Regions from separate parts of the Homo sapiens genome. Here all the other regions are linked to region 2. Evidence: promoter capture Hi-C in 16 types of primary human blood cells and fetal thymus (Javierre and others, 2016). All regions are on one chromosome and are shown on one strand. Each heading gives the region's core, a stretch centred on a gene start or on the middle of the fragment in contact. The rest is flanking DNA. Distances are from core to core; before and after follow the strand shown.

The links. Contacts are between HindIII fragments. The CHiCAGO score rates a contact against its expected background, and 5 or more counts as called.
Region 1: a contact is called between a fragment that was not itself captured here and the fragment with the promoter of ZBTB11-AS1 in region 2, in 2 of 17 cell types (monocytes and erythroblasts). The highest score is 8.1, in monocytes.
Region 3: a fragment that was not itself captured here is called in contact with the fragment with the promoter of ZBTB11-AS1 in region 2 in 2 of 17 cell types (total CD4 T cells and activated CD4 T cells); the score reaches 6.4 in total CD4 T cells.

The regions. Positions count from the first base shown.
Region 1 is chr3:100,731,436-100,736,376 of GRCh38, forward strand. TFG (trafficking from ER to golgi regulator) reads left to right here. Exons shown (of 8, transcript NM_006070.6): 5 at 1,073-1,237. Among named protein-coding and RNA genes, the nearest start is that of TFG, 24 kb to the left of the region's middle. The HindIII fragment of the contact is 2,519 bases long and covers 1,443-3,961 here.
Region 2 is chr3:101,673,624-101,678,104 of GRCh38, forward strand. ZBTB11-AS1 (ZBTB11 antisense RNA 1) reads left to right here and starts at 2,807. Exons shown (of 1, transcript NR_024407.1): 1 at 2,807-4,481. ZBTB11 (zinc finger and BTB domain containing 11) reads right to left here and starts at 3,509. Exons shown (of 11, transcript NM_014415.4): 1 at 2,982-3,509. The coding sequence starts at 3,291. It overlaps LOC124906262 (endogenous retrovirus group K member 5 Gag polyprotein), which reads left to right and starts at 2,822. Exons shown (of 3, transcript XM_047449415.1): 1 at 2,822-4,481. RefSeq lists enhancers at 253-753, 2,647-3,201 and a silencer at 2,561-2,930. The HindIII fragment of the contact is 10,842 bases long and covers 1,524-4,481 here.
Region 3 is chr3:102,535,592-102,540,035 of GRCh38, forward strand. No RefSeq gene overlaps it. Among named protein-coding and RNA genes, the nearest start is that of ZPLD1, 100 kb to the left of the region's middle. RefSeq lists a silencer at 934-1,228. The HindIII fragment of the contact is 794 bases long and covers 880-1,673 here.

The DNA of each region.
Region 1 (4,941 bases), core at 1,452-3,951, 940 kb before region 2:
TTGACATTTTGTTTTTCTGTTGTTGTTTTAAACATTTTATTATAGAAAAGTTTAAGTATATAAGAAAGTAGACATTATAATGAATCCCAGAAACCCACATCCAGTTTCAACAGTTACCAACTTATAGTATCATATAATTACACTATACACATTTCCGCCCCTCCTGTTACCCAGAGTGGAGTACAATCTCAGCTCACTACAAACTTTGCCTCCTGGGTTCAAGTGATTCTCGTGACTCAGCCTCCTGAGTAGCTGGGATTACAGGCATGCATCACTGTGCCTAGCTAATTTTTGTATTTTTGGTAGAGATTGGGTTTTGCCAGGCTGGTCTCGAGCTCCTGACCTCAAGTGATCTACCCACCTCGGCCTCTCAAAGTGCTGGAATTACAGGCATGAGCTGTTGCACCCGGCTCCCCTCCTGTATTATTTTGATGCAGATCCCATATACATCATTTCATCTGTAAGCATTTTAATAAGTATTTTAATAAGTAATACATATTAAAATAGAAGGTAGCAAATTCAAAAATGTTTTTAATGTGCTATTTATGGAAGATTATGAATTAATTATGGTTGGCTTGATTTCCATGTAATTTAATAGTGGACCAGTAGACAGTAGAAATAAAATGTAAAATTTGAGATTATAACCTTAGTTCAGTTTCTTTTTATAAAATAAAGCCTTAGTTCCTATAATTATTATTTCCAGAGTGCCCAGTGGGTATCTGATACTAGGATATAGGTTATTGGGCTCCAAAAAAACCAAAAAAAGTAAAATGTTTCTCTTTATCAAGGAGCTTGTATTTTTTTCATCTAATGTTTCTTACAAAAGGAGGTAAATAATTTTTTTGGAAAGCTTTTGTTCATCTTCTGTTTCTTTTTGCCCTCTTCTCCCTGTTACTAGAAGGAAAAATATAAAAAAAATAAAGGAATTAAAATGATCTGTAATCCTATATTCCGACATGCTTAACATTCCAGACTATCATTATACACCTGCATTATTTCCCTTGTACTTTTAGGCCTTACTGAATATAGATAAAAAGGAAACAAGTTTTTGTTTATTCCTCTATTTTTACAGATACTGTGGATGGTAGGGAAGAAAAGTCTGCTTCTGATTCTTCTGGAAAACAGTCTACTCAGGTTATGGCAGCAAGTATGTCTGCTTTTGATCCTTTAAAAAACCAAGATGAAATCAATAAAAATGTTATGTCAGCGTTTGGCTTAACAGATGATCAGGTTTCAGGTAAGTTGGTTTCCAACTCCTTTACACCCTTCGTTTCCTTCATCTTTCCGTTCTTCCCTTTCCTTCTTTCTTTAATTGAAGAATAACTTGGATATGGTGAAGTGCACAAATCTTAAGGGTTCTGCTTAACAAATTTTTACATATGTGTACACTTATGTAAAAGACTAACTAGATTAAGATGTAGATGATTTCCAGCACTTCAGAAAGCTTTCTTATGTCCTCTCCCCAAGAGTAGCACCCTCCCCCTTAAAGAATAAGCACTGTTGGGTTCAAGTAAATTTTTGAAAGTAAAATTTAGAAAGTTTTTAAAAATCTGAACTATTTTATAATTTGATTAGTTGCAGTATTCGAATTATATTTGATTTGTCTTATCTCCTCATCTTAGAGAAATTGAAAATTAAATGTAGATTTTCTTGTTAAATTGCTTGAGTATACAGTGGGTTTTTATATAAATAAGTTTTTAACCTTAAAGCAGTACCTATATTGTTTTATTCTGTTTAACTTTTGGTTATAATTTCTTCATTATTTTTTCCTGCTTTTTCTCTTTTCGGATTCTAATAACACATACATTGGAGAGCTTGATACTGTCTCATGGGTCATTAAGGTTCATTTTTCTTCAGTCTTCTCTCTGTTCTTCAGGTTGGGTGATTTCTGTTGAACTCTTCAAGGTCGCTGTGATTTCTAATATGCTGTGGAACCTTTCTAGTGAATTGTTTAATTGTGCTTTCAGCTCTAGAATTTCCATTGGGTTTTTATAGTTTCTGTTTTTCTGTTGAGATTCTTTATTTTACATTCATTAAGTCTATATTTTCCTTTAATTGTTTGAATGTATTTATGTTTGATTCTTTAAAAATATTTAGCTGCTTTAAAATGTTTATCTGCAATATGTAACACTTGGACCCATTTGGAGTCAGTTTCTATTGACTGGGTTCCTCTCCCCCACACACACTCCCCCCAACTCCAGTAGGGTCACATTTTTCTGTTTCTTTGCCTGTCTGATAGTGTTTGGTTGAAAACTAGACATTCTGGTTAATATGTTGTAGTGACTTGGACTTATATTCTTTTGAGGATTTTCTGTTATTGTTGATCTAGCAGGGAGTTGATTTGTATGGACTTAACATAAATAACAAACAGAAAAGCGCTCTCTAAAAGAAAAAGGTATTTGGGAATAGAGCATTGCATTGAAAATATGCATGCCATAGTAAACTATGTGCATATTCAGTGAGGTAAAGGCAGACAAAGGTTTTTAAAGGAAAAAATGAGGAGAATATATAATTGTTTTGAAATAATTATTGTTGGCTACAAAGATCATTAGCAAGAGTGATGCCAGTCTGAGGTTGGACAGGCAGTTTCTGGGCAGATGTCCTCACAGTCACAGAAGTTTTTTTTTTTGCTTTTTTTTTTGCAAAGTTGTGATGGCCTTTGTGTAGGCTTGTGGTTTTTGAACTCTTTTGTGATAGTTTTTGCAAGAATCCTCTCTTCATGGCCTTATCAGAGTTTTTAATTTTTTTTTAACATTAATGACTTCATTTTGGTTTTGATAACTTTCACATACTCAAAACTGCTCCTTCTTTCTCCCTATGGTGTATAGCAGCTGATATGTATGCTCAGTCCTTTCAGCTTGCTCTAGGTGCTGCATTTTTCTCTGAGCCTTCTTGAGATATCCTCGTCTGCTCTCCCAGCCCTATAGTCAGCTGGGGATTTGGACAGAGTGTATATACCTAGATCGTGGGTCTTACCCTTTCAGTAGCACCTTCACTTCCGGGATTTTCCTCCTAAATCTTCAGCTGCTTGTCTAGCCATAAGGTTGTTAACACTGTGGTTTTCTGCCATTGGAGCTGCAGAGGTCAGCGCTTTTAATTCTTATCCATTCTAATTTTATTGGGGTAAACTCCTCTGGTTTCTGATTGACTTTCAGTTATTTCAAATAGTTTCTTTTGTTTTGTTCATGTTTTTAGTTGTTACCTGGGAGAGAGTTTATCTGATGGATTTACTTTGCCTTTATCAGTAGTTGGAAATGTGTACAGTCCATTTTGTATTTCTTAGAGACTTTCATGGAATTACTCACAAAAGAGAATTGTGTGAAAATTTGATGAGGTCAGACTTTTAAATTTTGATTTAAATGTAGTATATTCCAGACTAGAATAATATTAATATGATTCACATTATTTGAAGACCATTTTTCTCACAGCTTTGTATGTTGAATTATAGTAGGAAAAACTGTATGCATAGCTAGGATACTTTTGTAGTTCTTCAGGTGTGATGTGGTAAAAATGTGGCTTATTAGAATAATGAATGTGGCAGTGGGAAGGAGGGATAAAATATTACAAACATGGAATGAATATTAACTGTAATAAATTACATATAAGGGAGGAAAGAGGAGCCAAAGTAATAAATATATATATTTAGGCTAATAACAGTGTCTTTTGTGGGAAGAATGTGTGTATTTATCTACATAGATATAAATTTAAGTAAAATGGTGGTAGATAGAAACCATCATCCATTTTATTTTGGCAATCATCAGTCTCTCTTGCATTACCACTATTATATCCTAGTTTAGGTTCTTATTAATACTTGGACTGTCAGCTGTCAACTGTGCCTAATACTGTGGTAAGTTCTGGGGATACATCAGAGCAGAAGATAGAGGTTTGCCCTTAGAGAAATTAGTCTGCTGATAATAGCAAGTACTTATATGGAACTTTCTGAGTAGTAGTCACTTTTATAAGCTTTTGCTGTATAATTCCTTTTATAAGCCCATGCTATAAGCTCTTGTAAACTCATAATCCTCACAATAACCTTATCAAGTAGGAATTAGTATATCCTTTGTACAGATGAGGAAACTGAGGCACAGAAAGAGATTATGTAACATGTCCAGAGTTACACAGCTAGTGAGTGACAGCACTAGGATTTGAACCTGGGTAGTCTAGCTCCAAAACCTATGCTTTTAACCACTCTTCTGCATTGCCAAAGCAGAAAGAATTTAAAGGAATAAGACATATTTACATTGTCCTCAGAATATCTTTTTTGACTGTCACAGCATTGGAACTGTAATATATTCTCTCCATTCATTTCTGTGTTCATTATTTTGTAAGAATTATAGTGGCTCCATATGTAAGTTAGAGTGCTAGGCCTTGTTCGGCAGACAAAAAGAATCAACAGTCAGGAGCCCGGCCAAAAGAGTGCAGAGTCTTTAAGAGGGAAAGTGAGAGCTATTCAGAAATGCAAAGTAGAAGTCAGTATGAGTTAACAAAAGTAAACTAGATAGAAGTTCACTAGTAGAAAAAGTATTCATGAGTCAAGAAGGCTTACTAGAAGTGTGGAATTATAATTGGATTTTAAATAATGTTATATTTAAATATGTGAATGTTATATTTAAATATATGGGATCTAGTGGGAGAGAAATAGAGGTCAAAAAAATATTAGCTATGTTATGGGAGTAGGGAGAAGGTTAGTTTAGCTGAAAGGGAGGCATGTGAGAAGAGAAATTGTGAGAAATAATGTTTGGACCCTTAATGCCAAACTAGGAGGTTGAACTTAATTTATGGTCAGTGAAGACCCCTTGAAGAATGAAGTGACAATTTTGGTTCCTGTGCAGAATACATTGCTTGGAGTAGGGGGATATTGGCATTGCAGACATGAGTTTTGATTTTTGCAGGGAGAGGTTAAGACTCAGGAATATAGTACTCTACACTTTATAAGGAAGG
Region 2 (4,481 bases), core at 1,557-4,056:
CCACCTCAGCCTCCCGAGTAGCTGGGATTACAGGCGCCCGCCACCACACCTGGCTAATTTTTTGTATTTTTAGTAGAGATGGGGTTTCACTATTTTTGCCAGGCTGGTCTCAAACTCCTGACCTCAAGTGATCTGCCCGCCTTGGCCTCCCAAAGTGCTGGGATGACGGGCATGAGCCACCTTGCCTGGCCACCAAGTTCCTTATACTTTCAATCTTCAAATAGTATTCAAGCAATATTTTCCAAATTGTATTATGTCCCACACTGATTATAAAAGTATACACTGAAGTCATAAATTCAGAAAAATTTTAGCTATATGCAATTGACATTTATTATTAGAACCTCTGACTTCTACGGTGAAGAAACCTGTTTAACCTAGGAATTTGTCAAATTTATGGATTCACAGAGACTGTTTTTTTTTTTTTTTGCAGAACATAAACAATGGGGCTTGGGGCGTGGCTCACACACTTTGGGAGGCTGAGGTGGGCGGATCATTTGAGGTAAGAAGTTCGAGACAAGCCTGGCCAACAGAGCAAAACAAAAATTAGCTAGGTGTGGAGGCACGCGCCTGTAGTCCCAGCTACTCCGGAGGCTGAGGCACCAGAATCACGTGAGCCTGGGAGGCGAAGGCTGCAGTGAGCCGAGATCGCGCCACTGTGCTCCGGCCTGGGTGACAGAACAAGACTCTGTCTCAAAGAAAAAAAGAGAAGAAAAGAAAGAAAGGAACAATGGGTTCGAGTTAAATATAACTTTATCAAAAAAGCATTTATATGAGTGTAGATTTAGAGACCAAAAGAGGTTGTATTGGCCGGGCGCTGTGGCTTACACCCGTAATCCCAGCGCTTTGGGAGGTCGAGGTGAGCAGATCATCTGAGCTCAGGAGTTCGAGCCCAGCCTGGCCAACATGGTGAAACCCCGTCGCTACTAAAAATAGAAAAATTAGCTGGGCGTGGTGTAATCCCAGCTACTCTGGAGACTGAGGCACCAGAATCGCTTGAACCCGGGAGGTGGAGTTGCAGTGAGCCGATATCGCGCCACTGCACTCCAGCCTGGGCAACAGAGTGACTCTGTCTCAATAAATAAATAAATAAAATAAATAAATAAATAAATAAACATCGTCTCAGGTTTTTGCCTTTTAAGACACTGCACACTAAAAATTAAAAAAAAAACAACTGGATTAGAATCACTCACAGATAATGAACTTAGAAAAAGAAAAATTCTGAACACAAAATACCACATAACACTGGGTTAAGAAAAGTGTGAGATCACAAAGGTCAGCTGTGTGACTTTTGTTGTGTTATTTAACATCCTAGTGCTTTTAGTTTTTTCATCTGTAAAACAGATAGAGGCTGAAAAGGGAGGATCATCTGAGCCTAGGAGGTCGAGGCTACAGTGAGCTGTGATCGTTGTCACTGCACCAAGCAAGACCCCCTACGCTCTGTCTCCAAAAAAGGGAGATAAGTATTAAGGTTTTATGAAGGTTAAATAAATGTCAAGGGCTAACGACTACATCCTGCATATACAAGCTTGATCAATGTTACCTATAGTTACAATTATCATCTTTAACAAATCCTGAAGTATTAAATCTGAGACATTTGTTCAACAAACTAATGTCTACCCAAACCCATCCAAACAAAATGCACTGATTACTTCATTACCTCATAATTTAATCTTCGCATTTGTCTGTCCTTACAGGAATTTAATTCAGATATTGGTTTAAAGTGGAAAATAAATGGAAGAATTTGATTATCCAATAGTTCGTAAACGAATAAACTTGATGATGTTTATAAACCGAAAAGAACTTTAGAAACTATTCAGTAATTTCGTTATTCACAGACGAAGTAACCAAGATTTGAATGAAATAACTTTTCTGTAGCCATATTGGAGAGTGACAGCACTGTTCCTAACAAAATTTCTTAAATGGGACTATAAACTATTAACTAATTCTGACAGTTTGAATATTCATTAACTGTGGAGAGTGAAGATGGTTAAGAAGCCAAGGACACTTGCTATCCTCCCTTACAACTGGTTCCCAAGGAGTCAAGTAACTTCAGAGCTGTATTTTTTGACAATCAAAAAGTCACAGTAATCGTACCTTTTCTGCGTATATACAATGCTACACAGTTCCCAAACGCGTTTTTCACATCATTAGGGGAAAGATTATTAAAACATTCAGAGTTACGAATATCAAGCTGGGCGCCGTGGCTCATGCCTGAAATCCCAACACTTTGGGAGGCCGAGGCGGGAGGATGGCTTGAGGCCAGATGGAGACCAGCTTGGGGAACGAGGCGAGACCCGTGTCTACTCAAACACCCCGCCCCCGCAAAACCAAACAACAAAAACAGTAACTGATATCTTTTACATTTACTTCTTGTTCTTAAAAAAAAACGCTCAAGGCGATTTCTCAATCACTCCTTATCACTTCTGCAAATAATTGTATTATTCCTTATTTACGCAGCAGCGGCAAAATTTGAGGAACACTAGCGAATGTGTCCAGAGCAGCTCATACTCGCTCGCCAAAACCCAAGCGCAGCACTAAAGAAACGGGAGACCCGGCTTCGGGTGACTCGTCCCCCCTTCCAAACGTCAGCACAGTCGAAAACGTGCACCCCGCAGCCTCCACTGCCGCGAGCCACACGCCACCTCCAGAGGGCCGGGGCCTACAGCCTCAAGGGGCCGCCCAAGGAGGCGGACCTGGCGCAGCCCAGGCGTCCGGCCCCTCCCCGCGGCTGGCCCGGCCTCCGGGGAAGCCCCCTTGGTCCCACCCAGGGCCAGGGCCCGCCCCCAGCTTCGCCGGCCTCCTTCCTGTGGGAAGTGCGGCTCCTTTCGCGTCCCCCACCCTCTCGGCTCCGCCTGGCAGCAGCTCCGCCGCCCAGAGGCGTCCGAGACCCTCCGACTCGTGGGTACGCATAGGCCTCGCCAGCGAGCCTTGCCCAGGCAACGAGTCGCCAGCCCGCCCCCTCGCCGCGGGCTAGGTCTCACCTCGCCACCAGTACGTCTTGGACAAGTAGTGCCAGGTCTGATGCCGGGTGTGGTGAGTGCCGCCGGGACCCAGGTGCGCCGCCTCGATGAGGTCCCGGCGTCGCTCCGGCTGCAGCACCACCTCCAGCTCCGCGAAGGTCTTGCGGTGCCGCTGCCGCCGCTGGTAATACAGAGTCCCGCCGCGCACCACGTAGCAGGCGGCAGCTTTTCGGATTTTACGCTTGACATTGCCCTCGGTGCCCGGCGCATACGGCTCGCGCTCGTTCGTCAGGTAACGCAGGATGGCCCGGTAGCTTTCCTCGCTTGACATCGCGGACCGCGGCTCCCTGAGGGCGCCTGTCAGGGACAGGTGAGGAAAACGGCCCGCTACCTACGGGCGGCTGCAGGAGGAGCGGCGGCACCGTAGGGAGAAACGGCTGCGCCTTTGGCGAGCGCTCTTCGACGGCTCCCTTAGTCCGAAGGAAAAGCGGGCGAGTTGGTAACCAGGGGGAACTGCACTTCTCCAGCGCGCGGGATCCGCTGGCGACTGACAAAATGGCTGCTGCACCACCGGAAGTGACGCAAGGCAAGGGCGGGGACTGAGCCCTGATTGGAGCGCACTCTCGTTTTCTGGCTTGATGGAGCCGATCCAGTGACGTCAGGAATGCGGGTGGACATTTTGGAAGCGGGTAGGACCCTTCACTGCAGTTCGAGGGAGTCTTTAAGCAGACATCTTAAGTCCTGGCAGTTTCTCTTTTCATTTTTCCCTTTTCCACGCTTTCTAAGGAGCCACGTGTAGGGGGAGCTGGTGGACAGTTGAGAGTTCAGCCGAAACATCCAGAGGGTTAGGAGTCCGTTTTTACGTTTGAGACTCCCAACATCATAAAAGCATATTTTCAGGCTTCTGGAAAAATATTAGTCTCTTGACACGGGACCAGAGACAGCCCATTTACATGGAAATTTAGATTCCAGTTAACAGTTATAAAATTTTCAGTGCCTCCCTCAGTGATGAGTTATTGTTTCTAAACTTGCACCTGCTAGCTCCAGACTACTCAAGGAAGAGTCGAGATTCTTTTGGAATTATCAGCATTTATAGTCAATGTTATTGCGAGTGGAAAAGGGGGTCGGTAACACTATTTTAAGGCTTTATTTACATATATTTTTACACAAACGTAGGGGAAAAGGTTCTCCATTTTGCACCAAATATATATGAGGGTGCAAGAAGGGGAGCGGACTTGAGCTGCGTCTCCCAGTGCGTGCTGAGGATGCTAATACAGGTATTTAGCTGGTAATCCCGGAGCAGCGACCCCGGTCACCCTTTCCTGGGACGAATCTGCAGCGCTCACAGGGGCCCAGGGCTGACATCCCTCCTCGGGGACTGGGGTTGGACACTGTCGCCGCTTTGCTAAAGCCAGAACATTTCAGGCCGAGGGCTCCAGCTGCAGACACGGCCTAGTACACTTCTCCACCGGAGGGTCTGTAGTCTCTGGGTGAGGCCCTTTGACGCTCCTAGAAGTAGCT
Region 3 (4,444 bases), core at 27-2,526, 860 kb after region 2:
TTTCCCCTTCTCACATGTCAATATCCTTCCCATCCTTCCAGGATGTGTTCAAGTTTGAATCATCTATTATTTTTCTTTCAACTTCCTCCTGCCTTCCCTACTCTCTCTGAGCTCTGAGTGCAGAAATATTATGTCAGAACTACTGTGTTTACTGTGCTTTACCAACATATGTGCTTCTTGAGGTGAGAGATTATGGTTTATCTTCCTCAGTAATTCTCACAGTGTCATAATGTCCAGCACAATGCTGTGTAGTAGATGACCATGTAACATTAGTGGGTAATTACATGAACTTGTAGTGGTAGCATTTTCTGGGTCATCATCTATAGGCCAGTGGGATGATATTTTCTCAAGATAATTTTAAAAGGCAAGAAAAAAGAAGGCTTCTTATTTCTAATTTCCAGATAAGATATCCCCTACCTTGTCCCTGGATGATAGAACTGGATATTGTAAAATAATAGTAATTAGTATTTGAATGCCATTTAACTCTTTATAAAGCACCTTAACTGATATTTGCTTATTCATAATTCTGTAAGTTCTTCCAAAATTACTATACACTTTGAGGCTGGTGGTGTGATGTGTGAAGATGAGATAGAGGAAGTAAGCGTGGAGGATTTGGATTTGCAAAAACATTTGATAATGTATTGCTTTTCATTGGTCTCAAGGAGGTCTATTTCTAGGAGTATTGAGAAAGATATATATGTGTATATGTTTACCCATTTACCAGAAAATGGGTTTACTTCTCTAACGTTTTAGCAATAAAAAGAATTCCAGATATGCAGCAAATAAATCTGACTGTTAGTCAGCCCTCAGGAGCTGCTGATAGCAAAAGACTGAAGATCCTATATTTCTATATTCAGATCATACTACTGAGGGATTTCAAGCTTCTCTTTCTCAAGCCAGCTTTTATGGTTTAATAGTTTTTCTGTTATGAAAATAAAGCAGATGACACAAAATTTCAGAGAAAGACAGCAAAAGTAAGAGCCAAAGAAAAGAAGGAGTGGAAGTGAAAAACGCTTCAGTGAAAAAACTGGAGAGCTGACACTTTGGCACCGAAATGTTAATGCTTATTTTTAAGATTATATCGCCACCTAGTAAATAAGCTCAGAAATACAACCACAGAAAATGACAGCTTGTCTGGTGCTGAGCTCTAATCCTCTGGTTAGCAATTCCTGGGAGCACCTTTCCTTCTAAACATCTGCACACACAAATGTGCTACCTGCGCACGCTTTTAGAGTTCTCGTTGTTCAGGCTCAGCCCACGTTCTCCTGTTCATTTAGAGCAATGTGATGGAAAAGTCAACAGCACACATTTTAGAAATGAAAACAAGCCAAGGATTTCTATCAAGGAACCTGTTATCTACTCTTGAAAAATGATTAGTTAAAACCATACATATTATCATTTGCCAGTTCTGAATAATTCTGGGATTTTCATTAATGAAAATATTTTGCATTTTCTACTTTCATTTCTGTATAGAACCGAAGTGGTCTGTTCATGGTCTTTCTTGGTTAGGAAGCATTGGAACTAGGGAATTAAAAACACTAAAGACTGCTTAAAATTTTTCTTGTCTTTAGTTTTTCTGTTATTGTGAACAATCTTTTATTTCTTCTGCAGTGTTTGTTTGTACTGAATGCTTTATGCTTGATCACCCACCCTGATTCTGTTTTTGTACAAAAAGCTTGTTAGCTTGATAAAGCACTGCATAGGGTTTTAGTTGGTTGCTCAATAGATGATTATCTGGGTGGCATCCTGGCTATAGCCCTTGCTAGTTCCAATTTTGTAATCTGTGAGCTAGGGATAACAATAGTGCATACATCACTGGGCATTTGGGAGAAATAAATTAAGCAGCAAGTACTCAAAAATGTTAACTATTATTATTAATAATAAAAATAGATCGATTAGAAATGGTAGAAACAAAGGATAGAGACTGATTTCATCTTGCTCAATAGATCAAAATGGCACAGGAGATAAAAAGGTTTTAACCAAACACATAGATACAGATAAAGAAGGCATATATTCTGAGACTAGAAAACCATTCATTCTTAAAAATTCAGGTGATTAAATTTTAAAAAATTATTAAATTTTAATCATATTTAAAAATGATTGAATTCAAGTACTTAGAAACCTTGAAAATATACCTCCATTATTTTTTTCTATGCTATCTTTTTTTGAACGAAATCTATCCTCACTTCAGCCTTCCAAATAATAACTCCATTTTATTTTGAGGGCTGTTTAGAATAAACATGATTAAAGAAATTAGCCAAGAGTTTAGGGTATGAAGTGGGAGAGGGGAGATTTTTGTTACGAGAGCCTTTTTCATGGGGGTTATCAGGCATAAAATTATCAATTTTGTTTAACCCAGACGTGGCAGATTCTGCTATTTATCCCAGAATAACCATTGTTTTTCTTTTTCTTTCAATAGAACTTTGTGCTGGTACATGATTATACAGCCAAATATGCCCTAGCTTCTTAAGTGTGGCATCAACTGTGTGATATGTGCTAACTTTGGTGCCATGCCTTCATGAAGAACATGCATTTTCTTCTCCCCTTGTCTTTTTCTACCTTTCTGCTGGCTGGAATGTGGATATGATGATGGGAATGGAACAGCCACTGAACCAAGAGAAGGAAGCTAAGTTTTAAAGAGAAATAGAGCAACAAGATAAAGGAAGCCTGGCTTCCCATCACTTCTGATGTGCCGTAACAGCCCTGGAATGCCTATGCAGACCTTACATGAGAAATAAGCCAATGCCTGTCTGACTTAAGCTTAAATATTTTTTTTTAGTTTCTTTATTACAGTAGCCTAAACTGTACTACAACTAATTCTAATGGTCTACAAAGAGTCACAAGCCCTAGAAATATGAATATAAAATTATAGATGTTAAGTTTGACGTCTGCACGCTGCAAGGCACTGCTTCCTAAAGAGTGGTCTTTCATTTGATATTGGACTTTTATCAAAGAAAAAAGACTTTTAATGTACACCAAAAAAGGTCCTCTTAATAGGTGGTAGGAGGATTCTATTGTGTGGGGCTATCAAAGCGGTATCCCGCTTTCTTAAAAAAAAATGGAGAGGCTACGAAGAAATTAACTCAGGATAGAAGGTGGCTTGTCTGGTTACCTGGCATCCAAGCTTCTTGTAGAACAAAAAAACAAGTGCAGATGAAAATGACAGGGAAAGAGGAGGGCTCTGGATCTGAGCACAGTGTGTTGGAGGAAGAATGGAAAAGGCCATAGGTTGTTGAACAGATCAAAGCAGCCTTTGGAGAGAAGATAAAAACATTAATTGGTATTTATTAAGATATTTGCTACCTACATTACAATGTCCTGTTTTCTATCTCCTCTAATAATAGCTAATGATTATTGAACACTTTCTATATGCCAGACTCTGTTCTAGGGTTTTACATCTGTAATAATGTAATCATCACAGAAACTCTCTGAGGCAGTGCTATTATTTTTATTTATGTTTTCCAGATAAATAAAATGAAGCATCGAGGGGCGAAATTACTTGGTAAAAGTCATCCTTGCTAGTAAATTTGGCATTTGAACTCAAGCATTTTGCCCTAACCAATATGCTCTACTATCTTTATATAATGTTTACTAAATTCTCCATTGCTGGCCATTATCTTCAGACAAGCGGATTTGGGTTACACAGGAGCTTCAGAAAGAAGACATAACTGAAGACACTGTTATATTTAGTAAATCAATATACATTATCATACTAAAGGCTTCCCAGTAAATAAATCTGCTTAACTCTGTTTAATTCAGAATTTCCCAAATGTACTTGATCACAGAACTAATGTATTGAGCACTGGCTATTGCCACTCCAAGAAGCTAGTGTTTCACTGAACATACTTCTCAAATTCTTGGGGAGAAAAATATATTGACCTGGGTGTCAGGGGGCCCACATTTTGGTTCTGATTTGGTACTTTTTGTTTACATAGCTTTGGACAAGTCAGTATAGATTTCTGGGATTTCACTTCTTTTTATTCTTTTGTTTTCTTTTCTTTCTTTCATTTTATTTTATTTTATTTTTTGAGACAAGGTCTTACTTTCTTGCTCAGGCTGGAGTGCAGTAGTGCAGTCATAGCTCACTGCAGCCTCACTGTCCTGGGATTAAGCAATTTTCTCAATTTATCCTCCTGAGTAGCTGGGATTATGGGCATGGATCACCACGCCTGGCTAATTTTTATTATTTTATTTTGTAGAGCTGGGATGTTGCTATGTTGCCCAGGCTGGTCTTCAACTCCTGGCCTTAAGTGATCCTCCTGCCTCAGCCTCCCAAAGTGCTAGGATTAGAGGTGTGAGCCATGTCTGGCTAGATATTTGATCTAGTAAAACAGTGTCCAAGTTGATGCGGTGACCAGTGACATGTGAGCTTTAAGGACTAGGCTTGTATTTGGAAAAAGTGAAAGCAGAGATACAGCTATAAAAAGTCTAGACAATTAAATCC